3 separate regions of the Homo sapiens genome follow, and all the other regions are linked to region 3. The links are contacts of gene promoters, found by promoter capture Hi-C in human tissues and cell types (Jung and others, 2019). All regions are on one chromosome and are shown on one strand. Each heading gives the region's core, a stretch centred on a gene start or on the middle of the fragment in contact. The rest is flanking DNA. Distances are from core to core; before and after follow the strand shown.

Region 1 (3,226 bases), core at 254-2,753, 140 kb before region 3:
TTTTATGGATATATCACTTTTGTTCATCTGTTCATGAACACTTGGATTTCTTCCTCCTTTTGGCTATTGTAAATAATGCTGCTGTGAACACGCGTGTACAAATACCTCTTCAAGATCTGCTGTCACTTCTTTGGGATGTGTACACTGAAATGAAATTGTTGGATCATATGGTATTTCTGTTTAATTTTTGGAGGAACCACCATACCATTTTCCAAACCACTGCAGCATTTTACATTTCTACCAGCAATGCACAGGGGTTCCTATTTCTCCACACCCTTGCTAACACTTTTTCTGTTCTTTACTTTTCTTTTCTTTTTTTTGAGACAGGGTCTTGCTTTGTCACCCAGGCTGGAGTGCAGTCACATGATCTTGACTCATTGTAACCTCTGCCTCCTGGAATCAAGTGATTCTCCTGCCTCAGCCTCCTGAGTGGCTGGGATTATAGGCGCCCGCCACCACGCCTAGCTAATTTTTGTATTTTTTTCAGTAGAGACAGGGTTTCACCATGTTGGCCAGGCTGGTCTCGAACTCCTGACCACAAGTGATCAACCTGCCTTGGCTTCCCAACGTGCTGAGATTACAGGTGTGAGCCACTTGGTCTGACCTCTTTTATTTTACATGATAGTCAATCCTAATGGGTGCGAAGTCGTATCTCATTGTGGTTTTCATTTGGATTTCCCTAATTAGTGGTGTTTCATATCTTTTCATGTGCTTATTGGCCATTTGTATGTCTTCCTTGGAGAAATGTCTTTTCAAGTCTTCTGCCCAATTTTTAATTGGCTTGTTTGTTTTGTGTTGTTGAGTTTTAGGAGGTCTTTATGTGTTTAGATATTAATCCATCAACAGATATAAGATTTGCTGTATTTTCTCCCATTTTATGGGTTTCCTTTTTACTCTCTTGATAGTGTCCTTTGATGCACAGAAGTTTTTAATTTTGATGAAGTCCAGTTTATATATTTTTGTGTTGCTTGTGCTTTTGGTATCATAGTCAAAAAATAGTTGCCAAATCCAATGTAATGAAGCTATTTATCTATGTTTTCTCCTGAAGTTTTATCATTTTAGTTCATATGTTTAGATCTTTGATCCATTTCAAGTTGGTTTATGTATATGGTGTAAGGTAAGGTCCAGCTTCAGTCTATTGTATGTGAATATTTGGTTTTCCTAACATTGTTGAATGAAAAGGCTGTCTTTGGCCAGCTGCAGTGGCTCATGCCTGTAATCCCAGCACTTTGGGAGGCCAAGGTGGATGGATTACTTGAGGTCAGGAGTTTGAGACCAGCCTGGCCAATATGGCGAAACCCCATCTCTACTAAAAATACAAAAATTAGCCAGGTGTGGTGGCTCATGCCTGTAGTCCCAGGTACTTGGGAGAACGAGACAGGAGAATCGCTTGAACCTGGGAGGTGGAGGTTGCATTGAGCCGAGATGGCACCACCGCACTCCAGCCTGGGCAGCAGAGCGAGACTCCATCTCAAAAAGAAAAGAAAAGAAAAGAAAATGCTGTCTTTTTCCCTTTGAATGGTCTTGGCATCCTAGGTGAAAATCATTTTCATTTGACCACATATACAAGGATTTATTTCTTGGCTTTCTGTTAGATTCCATTGTTCTGTGTGTCTTTTATGGATAACTCTGTAGTAATTAGGTGTTTAGATTATTAAAGGAATATATGAAAAATTTTCTTGAACTGCAACAGTGATTAAAAGAATGTAAATTGAATAAACAAAGTATTTCTTCTATTAAGCTGATCCTCACAAGTTATATTAAAATTATAATATCTAATAATTGTTACAGCTCCTCAGTCTGTCACCCTGTAACACCAATAATAGGAATGTACATTGGAACAAATTTTCCGGAGCAGAATTTGACACTGTGTAAAGCCTTAAAAATTATCCACCCAGCAATTCCATTTATAGGACATTATTATAAGAAAATTGTCATGGATACATGGGAAAAGTTAGATAAGGGGTGCTCATTTTAGTGTTAGAGGGGTGTTCATCTTAATATTTTATATATAATACTGCAAAGTTAGAAGACATTATGTCCATAAATAAATAATTGGGTAATAAATTGTATCCACACAAAGTTGTGCAGCCATAAAAACACTGACATTGAAGAAAACTTTACAATAAATGGAAAGACGTTATAGCATGATTCTATTAAAATGTTCGGTTTAGGCATTTAAAAAAACCCTCAAGCGGCCGGCATGGTGGCTCATGCCTGTAATTCCAGCACTTTGGGAGCCCGAGGTGAGCAGATCACGAGGTCAAGAGATCGAGACCATCCTGGCCAACATGGTGAAACCCCCGTCTCTACTAAAAATACAAAAAATTAGCCAGGCATGGTGGCGGGCGCCTGTAATCCCAGCTACTTAGGAGGCTGAGGCAGGAGAGTCTCTTGAACCTGGGAGGGGGAGGTTGCAGTGAGCGCAGATTGCGCCACTGCACTCCAGCCTGGTGACAGAGGGAGACTCCGTCTCTAAAAAAAAAGAAAAGAAAAGTAAAGGAAAACCCCTCAAGCTTAATGTATTGCCTGTTAATAGTGGTCTGTTTCTGGGTGGTGGTATTATGGGTTATTAAATTTTTATTTTTGCATATGTATGTAACAATGTTATGTTACTTTTATGACAAGACAGTAAAAGGCATTTTTGAAAATTGAAAATGAAATAAAACTAGAAAGCATAGTTAAATCCTGTGGCAGAATCGGTATCTAAAAATAATCTTAGTAGGCTGAGATTGATGGACTGAATCCAGTGAAGTTTAATCAGGATGGATGAAAAAAGTATAGACAGATAGATAGGTAGATAGATAGATAGATAGATAGATAGATAGATAGATAGAGTAATAAGTTAGTCATATCACTGGCTTTAAGAAAACCACCTATAACCAATATAGAAAATGAGGCAGGGGGCATAGTGGCAGCATATGTTAAAGACTTAGGGGGTTTAATTTACTCTAGCCACTTAACTTTCTGGTTGTAAGCAGCCAGCTGTTCTCTCCCCATTTCATTTCATCTCACTCTCAGCTTAGTCTCTTGATGGCAAACCTCCATCAAGAGGTGGTGCTTCCTCATGCTGACATTTAAGTCTCTTCAGCATTTACTCTGATCTGTTCTAGCCATCTAGTTGTCTATTCATCTTTTCTGACTTTTTTCAAGTTCTTTCTTTGGAGTCCTCCTGTTCCCCTCACTTTTGCTCGTACTTCAGAGATCCATCTCAAGTGCTGCCCTC
Region 2 (3,506 bases), core at 300-2,799, 230 kb before region 3:
TATGTGCATATATGTGCACATGTGTGTGTGTATATATATATATTTCATGAATGCAAGAACCTTGTCTGTCTTGTTCCTGGCATATAATAGGTTTTCAATAAATATTTGTTAAATGAATGAATAATAAAGCTGTTTTTACCAACTTACGTTTGTATAATCCTTATACTTTTAAAAAGTATTTTCCTACCTATTATTTCACTTTATCCTCTGAAAAATTCCCATAGGACAGGCAGGGCCATATTTTGGTTTCTTCCATCTGTGAGTGGAACCTAAGATACCAAATTACTTGCCTAGGAGTAATAGTTAATTGGGTGAGTCCAGGTTTCCTGATTACACGGAGAATCATTCTGCTCCCACATTATACCAGCTAATAGCTATACCCATCAACAACAGAGATGAAATTCCATTCTAATGACACATCCTTCCCCAATAGTATGGAATTCCGTCAAAATAGAAAACCTGCTGTTTCTCAAAGAGTTTAAATTTATAGACACAAGAGCTTACACACTATTCTTTGCCTAAGCCTAAATTCAAGAGGATACCACCAAATCAGAGAACAGAAAAGGTCACTCAATTTTCCTAACTCCTCAACCACCACCTGCCACGTGGCTATAACCATCTTACTTCCATGCAATCGTGTCAATGAAATTGGAGAGAAGTAGATGCCAACCTAGTGATCCAGGCCTCTGGAATCCTAAGTCTCTTCCTATGTCTCCAGCAATGCTGGCTAGTTTGTTAAAAGCTAGAGAAACAGGATTTTGCAAGAATGGCTGATGTCTTGTGCAAATATAGTTCCTAGATTTTTTTTTAAATCAGGTGGTCATGTGGGTTAGAATACAGAAAAAAGAAAGCAAAGAGGCAAAGTTACCTTGATGTTGTCCCCCAACCGAGATCAGATTGATCATGGGAGGTGAAGGGCATCTCTGAGCCACTGCCCTCCTACGGAATAAAAGGGAGTTTTAGCTCCGACTGTCAGATGGAAATGTATCATCCACAATCAGCATCACAGATTAAGCTAGTCATCCTCTGTGACTCCCCAAACCCGCAGAGTTTCAGGATTTTCCTGATATGGGCAAATGCAAATATTTCTTTCAACTTTCATAGAAAATAAATTAAGCTCCAGCCAGGCATGGTGGCTCACACCTGTAATCTCAGCACTTTGGGAGGCTGAGGTGGGTGGACTACCTGAGGTCAGGAGTTCGAGACCAGCCTAGACAACATGGTAAAACCCCATCTCTACTAAAAATACAAAAAATTAGCTAGGTGTGGTGGTGAGCACCTATAGTCCCAGCTACTCGGGAGGCTGAGGCAGGAGAATCACTTGAACCTGGGACGTGGAGGTTGCAGTGAGCTGAGATCGCGCCACTGCACTCCAGCCTGGGCAACAAGAGAGAAATTCTGTCTCAAAAAAAAAAAAAAAAGAAAAGAAATTAAGTTCCATAAAGCTTCTTACACAGGAACATTTTAGGAAATTTCCCTTCCAAGATAGGTGACAATCTTGAATTGGAGGAGTGGATTTATCTGAATAAAAGAAACAAAAATCAATTCCATATAAGTGGTACAATATAACAAAAAGGAACGTACAGAAATTGGCCTCCCTGGGAGAATCCCATAGCATTGTAGCCTTGCTGCAATTTAGGATCCTTAGCAAGTGCCTGACACACTGTTGTTACTTGGGAATTGACATTCAAGAAGAAGCTGTTCTCCACGTCCTAAAAAAGAAGCCAGAGAGAAGTGAGAGGATGGGACTGAAAACAACCACTGACATCTTCTCTAAGAGGTAAACTCATTTAGGTTGGTATCCTCACATGAGCCACTCAAGGGTGAAAGTATCACTGTATGATCTGCTGCTGAAAACACAAGGCAAAGCATTTTAACAGTATATGCTATGAAATCAGTCAGCAACCCTTCAAAGGAACAGCTGTGAAGCGCCTTACCTCCATCAGGGTCTTCCCAATCTCTAAAGATAAGACGTAAATTCCAGGTATTTTCTTCTCCACCATTTTTTTAATAGCACCCATGCTTAAGGGATTGCAACAGCTGTCTCCTAGCCAACAAAACACAATGATGGAAACTCATGAGTCCAAATATTGTTTATTGTTTAAAAACTCTGAGGCCTCAAACAGCATTATCAAGGATGTGAAAACAATGTATAGAATGGAAGAAAATATTTGCAAAACAGTTATCTGATAAGGGCTTAATATCCAGAATATACAAGGAATCTATAACTCACTTACAACTCAACAAAAAGATAACCTAATTTAAAAATGGGAAAAGAAATTAAACAGATATTTTTCCAAAGAAGATATACAAATGGCTAACCACTGGCATGTGAAATGCAAACCAAAACCACGATGAGATACCATTTCACACAGACTAGGATGTCTTTAATAATAATTTTTTAATAGAAAATAACAAGTATTGTCAACGATGTAGAAAAATGGGACCCCTTGGACATTGCTGGTGGGAATGTAATAAGCAGCCACTGTGAAAAACAGTTTGGTGGTTTCTCAAAAAGTTAAACATACGATTACTAAATGACTCAGCAATTCAACTCCTAGTTATACACCCCAAAGAAATAAAAACACACGTCCATGCAGAAACTTGCATATAGATGTTAACAGCAGCAGTGTTTGTAATAGTCAAAAGGGAGAAACAATCCAGCAGTCCATCAATGAATGAATGAATAAAATGTGGTATATTCACACAATGGAATATTACTGAGTTATAAAAAAGGAACAAAGTGCTGACACATGTTACAACTTGAATGAACCTCAGAAACATTATACTAAGTGAAAGAAGCCAGACTCAAAAAGCCACATAATGCATGATTCCTTTCATAGGATAAATAAAGAACAGGCAAATCCACTGAGATACAGAAAACTAAGCTGGAGATTATCAAGAAGTAGTAGGAGGGGGCAATAGGGAGTGATTGCTTAATGGCTATGTGTGTTTTTCTGGGGTGTTGAAAAAGAAGTGTTAGTTGCACAACATTGCAAATACACTAAATGCCACTGAATCGTACCATTTTAAATGGTTAACTTTACATGAATTTTTACCTCAATTTTAAAAAACAGAAGAAAGAACATTTTTTGCTTAGCTCCTGTTTATCAAGTAATAACAAGCTTCAAAAGTCCATACAGGAGCTGGGTGTCATGGCTCACGTCTGTAATCCCAGCAGTTTGGGAGGCCGAGGTGGGTGGATCACAAGGTCAGGAGCTCGAGACCAGCCTGGGCAACATGGTGAAACCCCATCTCTACTAAATATACAAAAATTAGCCGGGTGTGGTGGCACATGTCTGTAGTCCCGCTACTTGGGGGGCTGAGGCAGGAGAATCGCTTGAAACTGAAAGGTGGAGGTTTCAGTGAGCCAAGATCATGCCACTGCACTCCAGCCTGGGCAACAGAACAAGGCTCCATCTCAAAAAAAAAAAAAAAAAAAAATCCATATAGGCCAAGCATGGGCTCATACCTATCATCCCAGCGCTTTGGTAAGACGAGGCAGG
Region 3 (3,150 bases), core at 633-3,132:
TCAGGGCTGGTTTGAGGTTTTTGCAGAACAAACGGCGTCCTTGTGGTGCGGGCCGGCGCCGCCTATTGGCGACGAGGGGCACTACATCTCCGGGCACCCCGAAGTCCCCACCCCCACCACAGCGCTCACAAAGTTCTCCTTTGTCTGCCGCCTCCCTCCCGCCCTGGTCTCAGGTTAGAGACTTACGTCGATGCCGTCGGATCCAGGCACTCCCGGCGGTCCCGGGGGACCCGGGGGGCCCCGCTCTCCCGGTGGACCTCTCTGAAAAACACACACGGGGTGGGGCAGTCCTCAGACAGTGCAGGAAGCTGGGCGTCCCCGGGGCTGCAAGCGACCCTGGGAGCGGGGTCCTAGGGGCGCAGCTCTTCCGCGAACTCCCACGTATTGAGAATCTTCTGTATAGCAGGCACTGTGTGCCATTACATGCATTCATTATCTTACAGAATACTCAGAACCGGGAGGCGGGCGCTATTACGGGCCCCAGTTTGCAGTCGAAGAAACTGGCTCAGAACGTGAAGGGTCCATGGTCACTGAGAGTGGGCGGCGGCGCCAGGAGTCCGCCCTGGATCTGCCCGACTCCTTCCACTGTGCCAGTTTGCCCTTGCGCGGTCGCGGTGGGGAATAGATGGAGACGTGGACAGCTCAAATAAATCACAGATGGAATGTAAGGTTGTGCCTAGCAGGCTGCCGGCCCTCAGTGAGCGGTGGCTCGGGTTGTTGTTCTTACGTGAACGACAGGCAGAGACAGCGCCTCCTCCTCTCCCCATGGTGCGGGAAAACCCGACGGGAAAGTGGGGGAGGCGCAGAGAAAGGAGGTGTAGGGAGGTGAAGCGGGTACTATCTTCCCACTCGGAGCGCCCCTTCGGCAGCACAGCTGCCCGGTCCTCCCTCTGCTAAGCCCTGACTGCTGCAGGGGAGCAGGAGGAGCCGGCACCTCCCAGAAAGCAGACCCTCTCTCTGGATCCCGTTTGCCTGCAATTCAATGCCCCTGGGTGGGTGTGAGGTTTCAGGGAGGTCACAAGTCATATCAAGATGAGGCGAGCTCACAGCTGGAGAGTCTCCATCCTGCTGCCCATCTCTGAACAGATCAGAGATCTTAAAAGGCGGCCCTTTTAAGAGGCCAGCTCGGACCCAGGCAGGGGTCCCGGTGCCCACGACCTCCCCAGGCCGCGAAGTGCCAGGCTGGCGCCCCGCAGGCGAGCTCGAAACCACACCCAGCACCCGACCGGGCCCAGTCTCTGCCCTACCCGCGCGCCCGCAGCCCCCGGCGGCCCTCGGAAGGGAGACGTGGGTAGGCGGGCAGGGCCGAGAGGCCGCCTCGGGGCGACAGCGGCGTCTGGTTGGAGCCGGCGCCCCCTGGGAGGCGGCGGGGGCGGAGGCTGCGCAGCGGGTGAATGAGCACCATTGTATGCCCCGCCACCTGGGCTCCCCGGGCTGCCAGGACCGGGCGCCAGCTCCTGCCCCACGCTGCCTGTCCCGGGCCGGGCCGCGCGTCTGGGGACGGGTCCCGTTTGACTCTCCGGCTCAGCCACCTCCATTCACGGTGCCGCGATGGGCACCATGTATGCACCCACCGAGGGGACCTGCCCGCGGCGCTGTCCTCAGGTGGCCTCTCGGGCTAGGGGTGTCAGTAGGCGCGGGACACAGGCAGAGCTCCTCCATCCCGGACTCCAGACCCCGCACCCTGGACCCTGGCAGCGGAGGGGCTGCGAAACTTACAATCTGCGCCAGAGCGAGCACTACCACCTGGAGGAGAACAAGGAGGCTGCGGGGGGAGGCCGTAGCGGCGGCCATGGCTGGCGGCGAGACCAAGGGGGACGGGTGCGTGTCCGCGCACGCACCGACGGCAGAGTCTCCCGGCGCTCCTCCAGCGCTGGCTGTTCGCGGGCAGGGTGGGCTGGGGCTCCTGAATATGCGGGGGGCGGGGCGGGGGCCGGCGTGAGCTGTCACCTGAGAGGACCGGCGGGGTTGCCGGGAGGGAGGCCGGCGCCAGGCATCCAGCTCCGCCCCGCTCGGTCCAGCCTCCTGCGCCCACCCTCTGTCCTCGAGGGGCGACCGGGGTGCGGGTCGGAGATGATGGTCCAGTTTCTTTGTGAGAAGGCATAAGGCCGTCTGAGGTTCCCCTCGGGACCTTCAGGCCCCAGCACCTTCCCCCTGACGCACAGCCTGTGCCCCATCACTTACCCTACGTCCTCTCCAGGGCCCAGGCCGAGAGCACCTCGGGCTCTGCAGATCTTGCTGCAGGCTCTCCCCAGCTCCCGCCCACCTTGCTCCCCTCTCCTCTGGCTCCTTCCTCTCCAAGCACAAACAAACAGGCCTTTTCCATATTAATATGCCACAGTCCTTCCTGGATCAGCCGTCTCATGAATACTCCATCGGCCTCTTCCAGCTCTTTAGTGGAGCTGTGTGCACCTCCCCCACCCCCGAACTTCCTCACCTCGCTTTCACCTCCCTACTCTGTCCCAACAAGCAAATCTGTCTCCTGGAGGTCTGCAGTGAAGCCCAACCCTTCTTCGGTCCTCCAGGCAGGAAGCTGTTGGCATCTTCACCTGCCCTTGAAGTCTTCCCCATCCAAGCTCCTGCCATCCAGCTCCCCTTTTTCTATTGCCTTTAATTCTCTGCAGCTGCCTTAAGCACTGGTGTGTTTAGGATTGGGCCTTCTCACTCCATGTTCATAGAAACAACTACCACTTTATTCACCAGAGTTTCCGAACCCCGCTGTCCAGCATAGCCCGACTCCAGAGAGCCTTCCCTTCCCTCCCACTCACTTAGGCAATATTGGTAAAATGCTTTGGAATCTGACTTTTTCACAATTATAGATATGACCACAGGCACCCCAAACTCTATGAAGTCTCATTTTCCTCATCTGTAAAATGGGGATACTAATAGTCCATATATATATATATATATATTTTTTTTTTAAGACAGAGTCTTAAAAGGCTCTGGAGTGCAGTGGCACGATGTCAGCTAACTGCAACCTCGCCTCGCGGGTTCAAATGATTCCCCTGCCTCAGCCTCTCGAGTAGCTGGAATTACAGGCATGAGCCACAATGCCTGGCTAATTTTTATATTTTTAGTAGAGATGGGGTTTCGCCATGTTGGCCAGACTGCTCTTGAACTCCTGACTTCAGGTGATCTGCCTGCCTCAGC

The links. Contacts are between HindIII fragments. The study calls those that stand out against the background at their distance.
Region 1: a contact is called between a fragment that was not itself captured here and the fragment with the promoter of COL9A2 in region 3, in 1 of the 25 tissues and cell types used here (aorta).
Region 2: a fragment that was not itself captured here is called in contact with the fragment with the promoter of COL9A2 in region 3 in 1 of the 25 tissues and cell types used here (IMR-90 fibroblasts).

Annotation. Positions count from the first base shown.
Region 1 is chr1:40,179,957-40,183,182 of GRCh38, forward strand. The region is part of intron 1 of RLF (RLF zinc finger); the gene reads left to right. Among named protein-coding and RNA genes, the nearest start is that of RLF, 20 kb to the left of the region's middle. The HindIII fragment of the contact is 8,457 bases long and covers 1-3,226 here.
Region 2 is chr1:40,090,461-40,093,966 of GRCh38, forward strand. It overlaps PPT1 (palmitoyl-protein thioesterase 1), which reads right to left. Exons shown (of 9, transcript NM_000310.4): 2 at 1,938-2,047; 3 at 1,585-1,712; 4 at 869-939. Among named protein-coding and RNA genes, the nearest start is that of PPT1, 5.0 kb to the right of the region's middle. The HindIII fragment of the contact is 4,299 bases long and covers 1-3,506 here.
Region 3 is chr1:40,315,404-40,318,553 of GRCh38, forward strand. COL9A2 (collagen type IX alpha 2 chain) reads right to left here and starts at 1,883. Exons shown (of 32, transcript NM_001852.4): 1 at 1,720-1,883; 2 at 187-261. The coding sequence starts at 1,794. RefSeq lists silencers at 128-187, 198-297, 1,058-1,567 and enhancers at 741-1,377, 1,378-2,014. The HindIII fragment of the contact is 32,999 bases long and covers 1-3,150 here.